2 separate regions of the Homo sapiens genome follow, and region 1 is linked to region 2. The links are contacts of gene promoters, found by promoter capture Hi-C in human tissues and cell types (Jung and others, 2019). All regions are on one chromosome and are shown on one strand. Each heading gives the region's core, a stretch centred on a gene start or on the middle of the fragment in contact. The rest is flanking DNA. Distances are from core to core; before and after follow the strand shown.

The links. Contacts are between HindIII fragments. The study calls those that stand out against the background at their distance.
Region 1: a contact is called between a fragment that was not itself captured here and the fragment with the promoter of ZNF736 in region 2, in 1 of the 25 tissues and cell types used here (bladder).

What each region holds. Positions count from the first base shown.
Region 1 is chr7:64,707,582-64,711,451 of GRCh38, forward strand. It overlaps ZNF107 (zinc finger protein 107), which reads left to right. Exons shown (of 4, transcript NM_001282359.2): 4 at 1-3,870. The coding sequence ends at 1,075. Among named protein-coding and RNA genes, the nearest start is that of MIR6839, 30 kb to the left of the region's middle. The HindIII fragment of the contact is 5,049 bases long and covers 1-3,870 here.
Region 2 is chr7:64,311,574-64,315,354 of GRCh38, forward strand. It overlaps ZNF736 (zinc finger protein 736), which reads left to right and starts at 2,388. Exons shown (of 4, transcript NM_001170905.3): 1 at 2,388-2,580. The coding sequence starts at 2,578. RefSeq lists an enhancer at 2,441-2,620. The HindIII fragment of the contact is 17,485 bases long and covers 1-3,781 here.

The sequences.
Region 1 (3,870 bases), core at 836-3,335, 400 kb after region 2:
CCTTACTAGACATAAGAAAATTCATACTGGAGAGAAACCCTACAAATGTGAAGAATGTGACAGAGCTTTTAGCCAGTCTTCAAACCTTACTGAACATAAGAAAATTCATACTGGAGAGAAACCCTATAAATGTGAGGAATGTGGCAAAGCTTTTAACCGATTCTCAACCCTTACTAAACATAAGAGAATTCATACTGGAGAAAAACCCTATAAATGTGAAGAATGTGGAAAAGCCTTTAATCAATCCTATCAACTTACTAGACATAAGATAGTTCATACTAAAGAGAAACTCAACAAATGTGAAGAATTTGGCAAGGCCTTTAAACAGTCCTCACACCGTACTATACATAAAATTATTCATACTGGAGAGAAACCCTACAAATGTGAAGAACATGGCAAAGTTTTTAACCAGTCCTCAAACCTTACTACACAAAAGATAATTCATACTGGAGAGAACCTCTACAAATTTGAAGAACATGGAAAAGCTTTTAACCTATTCTCAAACATTACTAACCATAAGATAATTTATACTGGAGAGAAACCCCACAAATGTGAAGAATGTGGAAAAGCTTATAACCGATTCTCAAACCTAACTATACATAAGAGAATTCATACGGGAGAGAAACCTTACCAATGTGCAGAATGTGGCAAAGCCTTTAACTGCTCCTCAACCCTTAATAGACATAAGATAATTCATACTGGAGAGAAACCTTACAAATGTAAAGAATGTGGCAAAGCTTTTAACCTATCCTCAACCCTTACTGCACATAAGAAAATTCATACTGGAGAGAAACCCTATAAATGTGAAGAATGTGGCAAAGCTTTTAACCAATCCTCAAACCTTACTACACATAAGAAAATTCATACTTCAGAGAAACCCTACAAATGTGAAGAATGTGGCAAATCCTTTAACCAGTTCTCATCTCTTAATATACATAAGATAATTCATACTGGAGAGAAACCCTACAAATGTGGAGATTATGGCAGAGCTTTCAACCTATCCTCAAATCTTACTACACATAAGAAAATTCATACTGGAGAGAAACCCTACAAATGTGAGTATGGCAAAACTTAATTGATCCTACAAGCTTACTACACATAGGAAAATTCATACTGGAGAGAAACTACAAATGTGAAGAATGTGTTAAAGCCTTTAACAAGTCTTCAACTTTTTCTGCACACACGAGGTATTTTATACTGGTGAGAAACCTTACAATGTAAAGAATGTGGCACAGCTTTTAACTAATCTTCAAACCTTACTGAAAGTTGAGAAAATTCGTACTGGAGAGAATCCTACAAATGTGAAAAATGTGGCAAATCCTTTAACTGATCCTCAACTTTTACTAAACATAAGGTAATTCATACTGGAGAAAAGCCATACAAATGAGAAGAATGTGGCAATGCCTTTAATCAGTCCTCACACCTTTCTACACATAAGATAATTTATACTGGAGAGGAACTCTATAGTTGTGAAGAATGTGGCAAAGCTTTTAACCAATCCTCATACCTTACTATACAGAAATTCATACTGGAGAGAAAGCCTACAATTGTGAAGAATGTGGCAAAGCTTTTAACCTTCCTTAACCCTTAACTGTAGATAAGAAAATTCATACTGGAAAGAAACCCTACAAATGTGAAGTCTGTGGCAAAGCTTTTAACTGATTCTCAACTCTTACTACATGTAAGAGTATTTATACTGGAAAGAAACCCTACAAATGTAAAAAACGTGGCAATGCCTTTAACTGGTCCTCACACCTTGCTACATATAAGACAGTTTATACTTTGAGAGAAACCCTGCAAATGTGAATAATGTGGCAATACTTTAAACCAATCCTCAAACCTCACTAAACATAAGATAATACTGAAAACTTTACAAACCTGAATGATGTGACAATAATTTTGACAACACCTCGAACTTTCTAACATAAATCATACTGGTGAAAAATCCTAGAAATGTGAAAAATATCACAAAGCCTTTAAATGGTTGTCACACTTGATTGTAGGTAAGAATCCATACTGAAGAAAACTCCTGGAAGTGTAAAAAATGTGGCAACACTTTTAATAAATGCTCACCCCTTATTGCACAGGAAAGCATTTATACTTCAGAAAGATTGTACAAATACAAGGAATGTGGAAAAGCCATTATTATCTGCTCAGATTTTACTCAACATTAGAGAGTTAGTACGTAATAAAAGCATTATAAATGCAATTTTTGTCAAGAGATCTTTCAGAAAATATAAGCCTTTAAAGTGAAGAAGAGGAGCCAGTTGTGCTGGCTCACATCTGTAATGCCAGCACTTTGGGAGGCCAAGGTGGGTGGATCACCTGAGGGCAGGAGTCTGAGACCAGCCTGGCCAACATAGCAAAACCCCATCTCTATTAAAAATTTTACAAAAATTAGCTGCGTGTGGTGGCAGGCCCCTGTAATCCCAGCTAATTGGGAGGCTGAAGCAGGAGAATTGCTCAAACCTGGGAGGCGAAGATTGCAGTGAGCTGAAATCACACCACTACACTCCAGCCAAAGCAACAAGAGCAAAAACTTCGTCTCAAAAACAAAACAAAAAAAGAGTATTCATTGTGAGGACAAACAATACAAATACGAAGAGGGTTGTAGTACCTTTACTTGTATCACAGATACTTTTGTACCCATTTTGCACTAGAGGAAAACCATGAAGCAGTTGCTCAAATGTTGTTCAACACCAGAAAATTTATATTGGAGAAAAGCACTGTAAATGTAATGCATTTGTGAAAACATTTTTTAAAAAACTACAGCTTAGAAAATACCAGAGGCCTCATACTAAAATATATTTTTGCAAGTGAAGTAAATATAAAAATAATTTAATCCAAAATTAAGTCTATATAAATATCAGAGAATTCACAGTAGAAATATCTAAGGTACTGACACTTCAGACATTGCTGAGTATAGAATCAGAATGCTGAGTATAGAAAATAATTTAAAACTAAAGTTGGTAGGTAAATAATGTGTATATAACTTTAAAAGAAGTAGAATTTTTTTGTAGATGTATAATTACATTCAAATTATATTTTTTCTTGAAAAATTAGTTTTTGAAAAGCAAATGATGTAATTCAACTCAAATTCATGCTCTTCATTCCTATTGTATTCACATGTGAAAGCATGTGATTAATTTTTCATGCATCAAAGATATGAGAAATCATTTCTGTTAGGTCGGTATTATTTATGACACTTTCTATGAAAGAATAAGGACATTAAAATGTAAGATGCATGATGAAAACCTGAGTGAAGAGGCTGTTTGTGTTTAACTTATAATATTGAGTGATCCATGAAGTAGGTTTTCAGAGCAATATTCTTCTGCATTATAGTAAGAGAAAACCATTTTTAATCTTAGTTAAAATTAAAGTGAATTAGTAGTATATCATTTTACTATTTGTACTTTTATGTAATAAAATGCAATGTGTTTAAAAATTTTTGGATTATGCGTGAACTTAGTTTTTTAATTAAACTTTTTTTAACATGTTAAAACTATTGTGCATTCAATGAAGTGTTTTCATGCCACTGACTTTACCTATCCCACATTACTCAAGGGTTTAGGTAAAAGAGGGTAACAGTATACTACTTGATAACATAATGGGCTAACATCTCTAATAATTATTTTTGCTAGTGACTTTAAACTGCTAATAAAGAATATTGTTCCCATAGGTTAGATTTTTATTCTTTTTAAAATTTAAACTTATTTCTCTTAATTTTTGTGGATACATAGTATGTGTATATCTTTATGCCATGTATGGCATATTTTGATACAGGCATATAATTTTATGTATTAATCACATCAGGGCAAAAGATGTATCCATCAACTCCAGCATTTCTCCTTTGTATTACAAACCAATTCT
Region 2 (3,781 bases), core at 1,138-3,637:
AGACTCTCCCTCAGATGGTGCCAATGGAAGGATAGTAAACTTAGGCCTCTCCAAGGGCAGGCAGCTCGTATGTGGCTGAGCACTTTTGTTTTTTGTTTTTTGGTTTTTTTTGAGATGGAGCCTCCTCTGTCACCCAGGCTGGAGTGCAGTGGCATGATCTTGGCTCACTGCAAACTCCGCCTCCCAGGTTCAAGCAATTCTCTGCCTCAGCCTCCTTAGTAGCTGGGATTACAGGTGCCCACAACCACGCCCAGCTAATTCTTGTATTTTTAGTAGAGACGGGGTTTTGCCATCTTGGCCAGGCTGGTCTTGAACTCCTGACCTGGTGATCCACCATCCTCAGCCTCCCAAAGTACTGGGATTACAGGTGTGAGCCACCGTGCCTGGCCTGGCTGAGCACTTTTTTAAATGGGAGCCCTCAGTTTTTATGTCTGTCATCAAAGAGAGTTGGGGTGGGAGGTCCCTGAGCCTCAGCTCCCATTGTCCCCTTTGAACCCCAGAACCTGCTGCAGACCCAAGTCCTGCTTTGTGCACATCCCCTGCCCCTGGTGGCCCTGGCAGTAATGCAGTATGAAGAGTGTGGGGAGGGGACCTAGTCAGGGTCCAAGGGGCCTTTCTGATGACCATTGGCTGACTTCTAGGGAAATGTAACACCCAGAAAGAAAAGGAAGGTGAGCAGCTGGGGCAACATTGGGAGAGAGTGGGGAGGTGAAAGTCAGCAACACCCTGTGCTATCAGGTGGTGATGGGGATGAGTATCCACTTTTGGGTGTCCATTCAAGGCCTGTCCCTGAAATCTCATAAGCCCCCATCTCCTGGACTCTCCTATCCACATCTTTTACTTGAAAAAGCCAAAGACACGCAGCTGCCTCTCTCCAACTCTCTCCCCTCTTCCTAGCTGGCCTCCAAAAACATGAAGCACTCCCTTATTAACTCTGTGGTGAGATTTTAACAAGTCACAATGTTATGTGGTCCCTAGCTCCACCGTTTCCCAAATCCACTCAGCCCAGCTCTTCCAGGCCTTTACTCTGATTTCTCTTATAGAGGCATTTCAGGGACTGTTGCCACAGGAGGGAAGGGCTGAGGGAGAAAGGCCCCTTGCTCTTTTGATGTGGAGGCCTCCAGCTGGGAGGGAGGAGCTCTTCCCTCTGAATCCCTGGAGCTCTTCCCCATCACAGGTACCTGCCTTTTTGCTGCTTTAGCCTCATCTGGGCTTTCTGTGGTTTCTTCTCTAGGGTGGCCAACTTGGGTGTCTTCCTCTGCCAGGGTCAAGGACAAGGTCAGTGATATTATGCTCCCTTCACCCAGTTATGCCCAGTTACATTGACCTGGTACCCTGGATAACTGGTGTGAGTCAAGCTGGTCCAGTGCTCCTGCCACCTCCAGTAAACTCTGATTCTAGATTCACTCCCTGCTGCAACACTCACTGTGTGTGGAACCTTGGGCATGCAGCCAGGCCTCCCTGAGACTGTTTCTCAACTTGAAAGTGTGATGGGAACCACACCTACCTCACTGGGCCTCGTGAGGACTCAGTTATATGTAGCCGTCACCATTGTTCTCATCATCATCTCTCTCAGGAAGAGCCAGGCACAAGCACTCTCAAATTTTTCTCCTTTGAAGCTCCTCATTACCCTGTGAGGCTCATCATCCCTACATTTTTTAGATAAGAAAACAGAGGCCCAAAGAGGGCAGTGACTTGCCCAGGGCTCTACAGAAGAGGCCGGCTCCTCCCCACACCTGGAGGCCCTGACCTAGCTGACTTTACCCCACAGCCCAGCACTATCCCTGACTAGGGTCCCATCTTGGTTCTCCATGCTTGTTTAGGTCCTCAGGCAGGCTCAGCTTTGGTGGGAAAGAGACAGGGTGTTTTGGGAGGCCTGGGCGAGTGGCACCTCTAACCAATCTGCTAGGCCCTCACCTCTCAGTCTCACTGAGACACTCCATTAATTGGAAGCAGACCCAAAATTGCTTCACAGACTGAAGGTGATAATTGTCTACAGCCAGCTGAAGCAGCTGCATCTCCTGGAGGACTTTGATCTCCTGCAGCTAAAGGGAAAGACAGGATGCTGAGACAGGGCCTGCAGCATACACATAACTATAATTCAGAATGTAATATATACACACACACGAAAATATAATCAGAAAGTGATATAATCTTATATGCAAGGTTAAATACAAATGTCTCTCAGGCAGGGCCAGGCCCCCAGCACAGGGAGGACTCGCCTGAAAACGCTGCAGGCAAAAACCTGTCACCCTTGCCTCATTCAGCCCAGTGTCTGATTACATCTTCTGTCACTTAGGATTGAAACGGGTGGGGCCTGGAGCCCTAGCCAATCAGTGGCGCCAGCGTGAAACTGTCCAATCAAGTGCGCAGCTACAGAGGAAGAGGCGGCCTCTTCAATATGGCGGGGCCTTTGTCTCCTAGCTTCCGGGCTCTGATCCTAGTTCGCGTCTCCACTGTTCCATCTCCTCCGTTCCTGGAGTTCCTCGGTGACTCTACTATAGCTTCTGTTATCCTGTGACCTGCAGGTACTGGGAGATCCATAGGGAGGACGGCGGAACATCTGGAGGCTGGGAAATGGTGAGTGCGTGGAGTGGGTGTCCCGAGAATGGGGAAGAGGCTGTTTGAATCCGGCCGGAACCGGCTGCGGTGGTATCTGGGCCTTCTCGCGGTCTGCTCTGGAGTCTGCATCCCCGAGTCCCCGCGGGCACAGCTCAATCCTCATTTCCCTCCATCGCAGATTAGGGGCTGAGCCAGCAGCCAAAACGCTACGTCTTGTTTTGTCCCTAAACTCGAATTTCTCCCCAGCTCAGATCCCTTCCTGGGCAGCTCTGTGCCGCAACCTCGAGTCTCCCTCCTCCAGATTGTGTGGGGGTGTTGGGAGTGTCATAAGACGGGAATTCTCATTTAGGGTCTGGAGTTCCTCCGTGGAAGAAGCAGTGGGCCGTGGGGTCCCTAGTCCCTCCTTTCTCCTTTTAAAAATAAAATCATGGCCCTTTTTTAAATTTATTTATTTTTGAGACAGTGTCTCACTCTGTTGCCCAGGCTAAAGTGCATTTCGGTTCACTGCAGCCTCCACCTACTGGGCTCAGATGATCCTCTCACCCCAGCCCCCCAAGTAGCTAGGACTAGAGGGGTGCGCCACCACGCCTATTTTGTTTTGTTTGTTTTTGTAGAGACAGGCTTTTGCCATGTTGCTCAGGCTGGTCTCGAACTCCCCGAGCTCAGGTCTCAGGTGATCCGCCCGCCTCGGGCCTCCTAAAGTGCCGGGATTACGTGCATGACCCACCACCCTAGCCTAAATTGAGGCAACTTTAGGATATAATTTGGATGTGTTTTCCAGCCCAAATCTCCTATTTAAATGTAATCCCCCATGTTGGAGGTGGGGCCTGGTGGAAGGATTGTGGGCCCGGATTTCTCACGAATAGTTTAGCACCATTCCTCTTGGTATTGTCCTCTCAATAGTGAGTGAGTTCCCTGAAGTTCATCATTTAGAAGTGTACAGCACCCCACCTTGCCTCTTTTTCAAGCTCTTGCTTCACCTTCATCCATGATTTTAAGCTTTCTGGGTGGGGCCTCCCCAGAAGCAGACGCTGGTGTTATGCTTTCTATGCAGCCTGTGGAACCATGAGCCAATTAATCCTCTTATAAATTACCCAGTCTGAGGTATTTATAGTAATGCCAGAAGCGATTAATACAAATAGTTTACTTGCACAAACAGTAATTTATCAATCAGAGAACACCCAGCTATGATTTGTTGTTTGGGGGCTCAAAGGAGGGT